Linked DNA regions of Homo sapiens: region 2 is linked to region 1. Evidence: promoter capture Hi-C in 16 types of primary human blood cells and fetal thymus (Javierre and others, 2016). All regions are on one chromosome and are shown on one strand. Each heading gives the region's core, a stretch centred on a gene start or on the middle of the fragment in contact. The rest is flanking DNA. Distances are from core to core; before and after follow the strand shown.

What was found. The method cuts DNA at HindIII sites, captures the fragments that hold promoters and counts their contacts. A CHiCAGO score of 5 or more calls a contact.
Region 2: the fragment with the promoter of ARMCX2 here is called in contact with the fragment with the promoter of TIMM8A in region 1 in 4 of 17 cell types (activated CD4 T cells, total CD8 T cells, monocytes and 1 more); the score reaches 5.7 in activated CD4 T cells.

The regions. Positions count from the first base shown.
Region 1 is chrX:101,347,109-101,352,017 of GRCh38, reverse strand. TIMM8A (translocase of inner mitochondrial membrane 8A) reads left to right here and starts at 3,276. Exons shown (of 2, transcript NM_004085.4): 1 at 3,276-3,485. The coding sequence starts at 3,354. It overlaps BTK (Bruton tyrosine kinase), which reads left to right. Exons shown (of 19, transcript NM_000061.3): 19 at 2,062-2,568. The coding sequence ends at 2,133. RefSeq lists an enhancer at 3,305-3,354. The HindIII fragment of the contact is 777 bases long and covers 2,564-3,340 here.
Region 2 is chrX:101,657,943-101,662,851 of GRCh38, reverse strand. It overlaps ARMCX2 (armadillo repeat containing X-linked 2), which reads left to right and starts at 3,002. Exons shown (of 6, transcript NM_177949.4): 1 at 3,002-3,094; 2 at 3,351-3,433; 3 at 3,704-3,776; 4 at 4,327-4,391; 5 at 4,710-4,779. The HindIII fragment of the contact is 4,840 bases long and covers 2,924-4,909 here.

The sequences.
Region 1 (4,909 bases), core at 2,027-4,526:
CTAATTTTTTGTATTTTTAGTAGAGACAGGGTTTCACCGTGTTAGCCAAGATGGTCTCGATCTCCTGACCTTGTGATCCACCCGCCTCTGCCTCCCAAAGTGCTGGGATTACAGGCATGAGCCACAGCGCCCGGCTAAATGAGATTTTTTTTAAAACCTACTGCTTGAAAGGGAACTAAAACAGGTAGTGGGTTTTTTGTTTGCTTTGTTTTGTTTTGCTTTTTAATATGGTGCATCGTGGGGTATGTGGGTAGGTGTGGTATTTTGGAAATAAGGAAATCTGTCCTACTACTATTAAACTGCTTTGCTCCTCTTACCTCGAGTTCTTCCCAAGATGCCTTCTCTACTTTTCAGTAGATCCTTGGCAACCTAAATTTCTAGTAGGAAATAAATGCTCAACTCTTCAGAGTGTCCAACAAGTGCATATGTGAATCTGGAGCCTTCTTGGTGAGGTGAAAAGTGGGTATCTGGATCCGAGCATGGCTGGTTTCCCTCGAACAAATGACAGATCACAGAGAAAGTGCAGAAAGGGAGGACTCCTTCTTTCTTCTGTGTGATGCAGGATTAAGGGTGATTGGCTATGCTCCCTCCCAATCAGGACCTTCTTACTCTGCTAATTAAAAATGATTTCAGACAGGTACTTTATCCACAGCCTGTTTAAAGGAGTGGTCAAAATTGGATGCATATCAGAAACCCTAAGGAGCTCTTAAAAATGCAGATTACTGGCTGGGCATGGTGGCTCATGCCTGTAATCCCAGCAGTTTGGGAGGCCAAGGCAAGCGGATCACGTGGTCAGGAGATCTAGACCATTCTGGCCAACATGGTGAAACCCTGTCTCTACTAAAAATACAAAAATTAACCAGGCGTGGTGATGTGTGCCTGTAATCTCAGCTACTCAGGAGGCTGAGGCAGGAGAATGACTTGAACCCAGGAGGTGGAGGTTGCAGTGAGCCGAGATCCTGCCACTGCACTCTGGCCTGAGTGACAGAGCGAGACTGTGTCACAAAAAAAAATTCAGGTAACTGGGACTTTTCTCCAGAAATTCTGATTAGCTATGCCTGAAGTGGAACCCAGAAATCTCTTTTTAAACTTCCCAGGAAATTCTGATACTCAGCTAAGTTTAAGAATCACTGAGTCAAGGAATCAAGAAATTGATGACCATTGGTTCTAACAGATTGAGAGCATTCTGGCATGAATGTTCCCTGAACCACTAAATACCAAATACCTCGGGGGCTTATGGGCCATGGCCATCAAAAAGAACCTTAGTCGTAGGCCGGGCGCGGTGGCTCACGCCTGTAATCCCAGCACTTTGGGAGGCTGAGGCGGGGGAATTACCTTAGGTCAGGAATTCGAGACTAGTCTGACCAACATGGTGAAACCCGGTCTATACTAAAAATACGAAAATTAGCTGGGCGTGATGGCGTGCACCTGTAATCCCAGCTACCTGGGAGGCTGAGGCAGGAAAATCGCTTGAACCTGGGAGGTGGCAGTGAGCTGAGCTCACACCACTGCACTCCAGCCTGGACAACAGGGTGAGACTCTGTCTCAAAAAGAAAAAAAAAAAAAAACCTTAGTCTTTTTGTTACCAGTGGTAAAAAAAAAAAAAAAAAAAAAAAGGTCCCAGGTACTCAGAATCCCTGCTCAGTAATACAGCCTGTGGTTTTGAAATATTAATCACTAAAAATTATCACATGGGATTTCTGTTCTGCCAACCACTTGAACTTGTTTGGTAGCCATTTTTCACTTGAGGATCCAAAATAAGAATGTGTTGTATACAGTTACATAATGAACTTGCCCTCAATTTTGATCAGTGTGATTGTCAGTTTAATTTGCAAATTGTTCTTATCACACTAATAACCTGAGTTACTAAAGATGAAAAGTGCACAAAGACTTTATGGAGAGCTGCTATTTCTTTTTTTTTTTTTTTTCCTTTTGTAATCGACAGGGCATGCTACTGGGCATAGAGCATATATTTAATAAACATTTGCTGCTTACTCATTGCATTTCCCTTGAATTCTGGATTCTAGCCACTCTAACACTTTACTTTTTCTTTGGTTTTAGAAAGCAGATGAGCGTCCCACTTTCAAAATTCTTCTGAGCAATATTCTAGATGTCATGGATGAAGAATCCTGAGCTCGCCAATAAGCTTCTTGGTTCTACTTCTCTTCTCCACAAGCCCCAATTTCACTTTCTCAGAGGAAATCCCAAGCTTAGGAGCCCTGGAGCCTTTGTGCTCCCACTCAATACAAAAAGGCCCCTCTCTACATCTGGGAATGCACCTCTTCTTTGATTCCCTGGGATAGTGGCTTCTGAGCAAAGGCCAAGAAATTATTGTGCCTGAAATTTCCCGAGAGAATTAAGACAGACTGAATTTGCGATGAAAATATTTTTTAGGAGGGAGGATGTAAATAGCCGCACAAAGGGGTCCAACAGCTCTTTGAGTAGGCATTTGGTAGAGCTTGGGGGTGTGTGTGTGGGGGTGGACCGAATTTGGCAAGAATGAAATGGTGTCATAAAGATGGGAGGGGAGGGTGTTTTGATAAAATAAAATTACTAGAAAGCTTGAAAGTCTTTGGTATCTCTATTAATCATGCAGCCTCCCTGAAGCGCCCTATCTCAGTATTCCAGAAAGCTGCTGTGTAGCATTAGTTTGGCATATTCCTACACTGAGAACTCGACAGGATCCTCCAGGTTTAAGCCCTCTTGTTAACTCCTGCCTCTGAATCAAAGATGCATTAAGCAAAAACAGTGCCTGTCACAGCACGCATGCAATGTTATTTGAATGAATCTGAAAGTTGGGCACAAACTGCCATAGCCTCATTTCCCTACGTCGGGAGAGGAAAACTCCATCAAAAAACGAAAGCCAGGGGCCCAGGATAGCCAACTAATCGACCCAGTCAACTAACTGACCCAGTGCACAACTCTGGTAGCTCAGAAAACGCGGGCTAATTTGGAAGTGGACAGGGGCGGAGCTGTGGGGCCAGCACGGAATGGATCACGTGGTCTGAAGTAACTTCCTTTTCTCCTTTCTTTTCTTTTTGGAGTAACATCTCAACGGCACCTCGGCTCTGGGCTGTAAGCCCTGCGATCTCAAGGCGCAAGGCTGGGCGCAACGGCAGGGTTGCGGGGTTACGGGATTGCGGGGTCCGGGGAGTGGAACCCGCCGACTCCGGGAACGAAGCACCGGCGCCAAGGTGTGGGAGGCGGCGGGGTGGAGTTGGACGCCTGCCTCGCGCCGACGCAGTGCACTCACGGGGGCGGTCCCAGAGGCAGCTAGCTGTGGTTCCGGTTCCGTCGCGGAGACACGTGAAGGTCGGTGCGGAGTTCGTCTCTGCAAGCTTGGTCGCCCTGGGATGGATTCCTCCTCCTCTTCCTCCGCGGCGGGTTTGGGTGCAGTGGACCCGCAGTTGCAGCATTTCATCGAGGTAGAGACTCAAAAGCAGCGCTTCCAGCAGCTGGTGCACCAGATGACTGAACTTTGTTGGGTGAGGAGCCTGGGGCTGGGACCTGAACACTGTACCTACTTTCCCTCTGTCCTTGTACCGCGGGACTCGCGACAACGTCGGGGATTCGGGGTGGGGGGCGGGCACCTGGCAGCAACCCTTGATTTTCTCAGGTTCCTGTGGCCTAGCCGGATGGGAGAAGGGTGACTCCGCTTCTCTGGGGACTGTCATTCCGGACCTCGGCTTTGTTGGTGTAGAGGACTGGGTATCAAAGAAGACTTATGCCACTGGACACCCAGCACTTTCAGGCACCCGAGGTTGAAGCTGCCTAGTGCTGGTCACCAAGACTGATCGGAGCCCCCAGTACTGGGATTTTATTTTTGGCAGCCCGAGTCCCAGAGAGTCAGTGAATCAGTGAATCTGCTATTCCTGGACTCCTCGGGATTTACCTTCATTACCCAGTTCTAACCCTCTCCGCTGAAAAATGAGTGGCTCCAGCCCAGTAACTATAAAAGTGGTGTAATCTCTTCCAACGTACATACTTATTTGCTTTCTTGTTGGATTGTTGTGTAATACCAAGCCGTTTTGGGTCTGAAGGTTGAGGAATTGAGCCTGCCCTGTGAGGGGACTTTGGCAAAAGGGTGGAAGGTATTTGCAGCTTGCCAACAACGTGTTCTGCTTGCCAAGGACAGATCTCCCTTAATGTACACAATTCACAGAATTCAGAGGCCAAGGATAATTTTCCTTGGAATTAGAGGGTCTGAGGCTTGTGTACATGGCAGAGAATAATGAACGAAATTTTTGAACCACTTAACTTGAACTATATACAGTCATTGGTTTCCATAGGCCCTTTCCCATAAACTTACAGTATTGCTGGACTATGACACCTACCAGATGCTTACTTAACTCTGGTCTGCCTTGGACCAGAGTGCTTTGATTCTTTTTTAAAAATATCTGTGATTCGTTACTTTGGGGCTAGGAGGGCGTGTGGTTAAGTACTATTGCAAGAATCTGTAAGCTGCCCGGCGCGGTGGCTCATGCCTGTAATCCCAGCACTTTGGGAGGCGGGTGGATCACTTGAGGTCAGGAGTTCGAGACCAGTCTGGGCAACACGGCGAAGCCCTGTCTCTACTAAAAATAGAAAAAATTAGCTGGGCGGGGTGGCACCCGCCTGTAATCCCAGCTACTCAGGAAGCTGAGGCACGAGAATGGCTTGAACCTGGCGGAGGTTACAGTGAGATCATGCCACTGCACTCCAGCCTGGGTGACAGAGCCAGACTCTGTCTCAAAAAAAAAAAAGAAAAGAAAAGAAAGGAAAAAAAACTGTAAGCTATGATGAACCCCTTAGGAAAATGCATTCAATTTTCCATTCATCATGACAGGATTCAAGAATCTCTAGCTTAAGTAGACAAGGTTATAGAATCTCAAGTCATATTTTTTTTCTTCTTTGGTAGGTTTTAGGGTAC
Region 2 (4,909 bases), core at 1,753-4,252, 310 kb before region 1:
TATAATAAGGACATTTATATTTCCTCTAAACAACACAGTAAGTGGGTGGGGAGTTTGAACAAGGGACATGTGTCTGGATATGTTGAGAATAAACTATAGGAAGAGAAGAGTGACAGGGAGACTGGCCTGTCTACATCATTCCTGACAACAGCAAACCAAAGAAGAAAAGAAACCTCATAATGAAAGCATTTGATAAAATAAGTAACCATTCCTAATTTAAAAAAAAAGTAAAATAGGAATAAGAGGGAACTTCATTTATGTAGTAAAGAATTATACGTAATTTAATGAGTCGTTCTTAGATGAATTAAATTAGATATAAAAGAAAATATCCTTAACCTGATGAAGAAGATATCAGGAGCTCTTCTGATCTGGCAGATTCATCCCTTTCTCTGGACTATCAAGATTACAGAACTTAATGACTTGCCTCCATTCACTGATAGTATTTCTTTGTACTACGTGTGTGTGTGCACGTGCGACAGAGAGAAAGAGAGGGACTAGTAAACATAAGTGAAATTAGCCTTGAAAAAAAAATACATCAATCACAAACAACAAAAGTTATACTAAATAATGAAACAAAAGAGGCATTCCCACTGTCTTCAAGAACAAGATCAGGAGGCTCGTAAGGAAGTTCTAGTCAATGCCAGTCATTAAGTTCTGTGATCTTGGTAGACCACAGGGAGGGACGAATCTGCCAGATCAGAAGAACTTCTGATATATTCTTCATCAGGTTAAGGATATTTTCGTTTATGTCTAATTTAACCAAGAATGACTCATGCAGAAGAAGAAAGAAAAGGGGGCATAAATGTTGGAAAGGAAGAAATGAAAAATCATCATTTACAAATGATTATATATAATACCAAGATAAACCAAAGGTATCACTTTAAATTAGAATTAATAAAACAGATCACAAAAATTTGGAACTTGATTAATAAGCACAAACGCACTACTAATGTGTCTAAAAAGAAAGTTGGAAACTGTTGACAGTGGCTGGGAGTGGAAAAGATAACAAAAGTTTCTTTCCCTGTATACTTTATATATTTCCTTATTGTTTTGAATATTTTTAACCACTAATATATAATACTTGTATTACCAGAACAAAATACAAGATTCCTAATCTGGACTATTATATATATATAACACAGACCCTCTTGGCCATTGTATTAGCTCTTAATTTTTTGCAGGGCGGGGGTTACAGACCCCTTGAGAAACTGATGAGGTCAGTGATCTCTGTTCCTGAAAAAAATGCATTTAACCACACATATAATCCCAAACAAAGCTTTGCAGGTGAATGCAATTTCAGGTGGTCTACAGAGTTGACCGGGTGAGAACACCTACTCTGGGTTCATCAGTGGGGATTGTTCCCTGGGCATACATTTGGTTGAGAGGGCACCAAGGTGGATGTGTACTGGCAGGCAGTAACCTTGCAGGAAGGCTAGACTCTTCCTAGGTCCCCTGGAGCTAAGGAGGCAGAAGTGAGAGGCCCAGGAGGATGCATCTCTTAGGCCAAGTGGTAGTAGCAGACAGTGTTTGGAGCAAGGTTCACTGGTAACCACGAATAAGGACAGACAGCAGTCAGGCCTGGGAACTTCCCCCAACAATCACTTTTTGTGTGATCACAAAAACCTTTTTGTGAAATCACAGGTTTCACAAATCGTCAGCTGCAGGGTCAGGTAAGAACAGCAATCCTTTCTATGCATCAATGGGTTTCCTCTGGGAACTTGGGGGAGGGACGGAAAGAGCCAAAGACATTTAACCAGGTCTGCATCTTGGTCACTTGTCTGGATATATTTTGGGTGTGAGCAACTGAGCCAGGTACCTGAATGCAGGAGATGAGCGGCTCTGGCATATGGGAGGGAGTAGAGAGACAGCATCTCCCTCCTCCTCCTGACAGGGCAGGGAGGATTTGACCACTCTGCACCCACCACACTCAGTTTCCTTGGCCTCACAGCTCTTCCTTTTGCCCAGAGTTGAATCATTAACTGGAACCTAATCCGAAGACAGGTGTTTAAAACTGTCATGGTTACAGCCATCAAATTACAGGAGGTTCACACACAGCAGTCAGCAATGGTTTGGGAATATTAAATAAATGTGTTTCTCTAACAGGACAAGACAGGATCATTTATTTATGCAACTTAAAAGCTGTCCCAGAAGGAGAAAAAAGTAGCGTATTATTTGTCCAAAATAAACAAGATTGAAGAACTGAACATCTCTCTGTGGATCAATTTACAGATCACATGGAAATATGCTTATCTTATTGAGAAATATTCCATTTTAGATGTTCAAATACCTTAGCATATTTTAAAAACTATTTCCTATGTGACCAAAAGAATTCATGTTCTATTCGGTAAAAATTAACCAAAATTAATGGTGCTTTCCAATGGACGCAGGAAACCTTTTTTCTTTACAAAACATGCCCACCCTTTTTTTGTTGCTACTTCCCACATTGAATTCTTGTTTTACTGAATTTTCTTACTATAAAAATAAAGCATGATGATAGTTTTGAAAACAAAACAGAAGTATTTGAGAAGTACAGACCCCACTCCCACTCCTTGTCTCCTTTCTGACACTCTGCCCCTTAACTATACTGGAACAGGGAGTCAACTGCAAGGAAAATCCTGGGGACTAGGGGCTGAGGAACTAGAGGTGGAGAGATGGAAGAGTGTCCAGTAGCCCAGGAAAGGATGAAACAATTCCCCAACAAAAAAGTAAAAATTTTCAGTAGCCCTCCGAGAAGATGCAGCCCCTCCCAGGTAACCAGAGAAAGGCAAATTGTGAAAGCAGGGAGAAGGGGCTACTTTAGGCCTCCAGGACTACAAAGACAAAAAAATGAGTGACAGGACCTGATGTGGTGGGGTGAGATGGGAATGGAAGTAAAGGAGGGGGCTCGTACTCTTGGTGGGAGTGGAAATTGGGGACCCAAGCTTACTGGCGATGCAGCCCTCACGTGACCAGGAGCTGACGTGGGCAAAGGTACTTAAAGCCCTGACCGTCGTTCTCCGTCCTCCTCTGGGTACCAACTCTATTGCGCAGCTCGCTGCCGTGCGTTTAACCCAGGCGAGGAGGAGGAGGAGAAAATTCCCCCAGATTCGGGCAGGTGGGTGTGAGGGTGGGCACAGTCTGGGACCCCTGAATAGGGGTAATCTAGGGATGCGGGAGTCGGAGGCCGCGGGTGCCTCGGTCTCCCCCACTCCTGGCCGGCTTTCCAGACCTGAGGTGCTCAAACGCGGCTCATTTTGGTGGGCGGTGGGGAAAGGGGGAGGGGGAAACGAAAAGACTTTTGATAGACTTTACGAAGAATCCGCTTACTTCCTTTCCAGCCAGTGTTTTTTGGTTTTGTTTATAATATTCAGGCCCGCACCCCACATTCCGTCCTGTTTTGAGAGGAGGAGGGAAGAGAAATAAACGTGGCAGCGCATAGAAGGCCAGCAGGGAGGTTGGGAAAGGGTAACCAGGAGGCGGGGGTGGGGCATGCAATTTGGTAACAATCTGGGCGGCACACTCCCACCCTGACTTTCCCCACCACCGCCCCGGCACCCTCCCATCCCCCAGCCGACCCTCTGTGATTTGGGAGTGCTGGGAAATGGGTGTACCAGCTGCTGTTGGAGAGGTGGCGGGTTTGGCGCTGTCTGGGCTTCACGGGAGGTGGGGGGGAGGGGGCGGACCCTGAGAGAATCTGGTATTAAACCGCCTTGTTAACTCGCAGACTGCTTTCCAGACACCTCCGGCCCACACAGCCGTTCACCCCCCGTCTTTTCAGTCCTGGAAAAGGAATTCGGGTATGCAGGCGGGAGAAATGGCGGTTGTTGGGGGGATTTGTGGGAAGTGGGAGGTAGAGCCCATAGCAGAGAAATCGTGGAAAATCTCGACCCTGAACCCGAAAAGGCAGACGTTGAGGCCCCTCTTCTGCAGGCTAACGCTAGGCCTAGGGGCTGGGGAGCGAAAGATGGGTGATCCTGGGAGGGGAACACTGAATTGTTTGGCAGGAGTCCCCCATACCGCGTCCCATCCAGCTTTTGCTGCACCCTCGCCCCGCTCCCCTCCCGCTTCGTTGCAGGAGAAGGGGTGTGGCGGTGTGTCCTGGAGAAATGGCGGACGGGGGCGGGGCAAAGCGGAAGGAGGGATTGAGTGCCTGGGGAGCCTGCGCAGGAGGAGGATTGAGGTGGGAGGGGTGGGGTGAGAAGAGTTGAAGGAATTGAGAGGTAGAATCATTTGACATTCTGATGTGCAAACACGAAAAGGCAGTTACTGAGACCCTTGTCCTGGATGCTGATCCATCCACCAGGCTTTCATTGTCTAACGTCGACAGTCTATATTTCTGCTCTTCAGTCTGTCCTTAGGATGAAGCTCTAACTGAACTGAAGTAAGGAGAAACAGCCTTGAATCTTTGGAGGGTCAGTGCTGGGGTTGGAATTGTCTGGGGCCCCCTGGTGTGGGTGTGGCAGAGACAAGAGTAGAGTATGGGACCAGAGGCTCCTCCTGCATCTTCTCTCTTTTAATTTCAAAGACACCCTTGCCCCAGGCCCTTTCTTTTTGGTGCAGAGAAAGGGGCGTGGCATCTGCCTTAGTTAATATTTGGGGGAGGAGAGGCTGAAGAGGAAAAGAGGATCCCTGAGGGGGGAAAACCTTTGACCCACAGGGGCCCAAATCAGGAAAAGAACCAGAATTCGTCCACCAATGGCTCAAAAACGCCCTTTCTGATCTGTCCTCAGGTCTGTCTTCCTTTTGGGCTCTGTGCAACTGCAGCTACAGTGGAAAAAAGCAAACTGCTCTTGATCCCAGGTTGGTATGTGCATGAGCACCATGTAGGGGCCTTGGGGGTAGGGGGTGGGGCATCATAGCAGAATCTGAGATCTCTACTGTTTTTCCAGCTCTCTACCAGCTTTACCCATGTCTGTACTGCCTCTCGTCC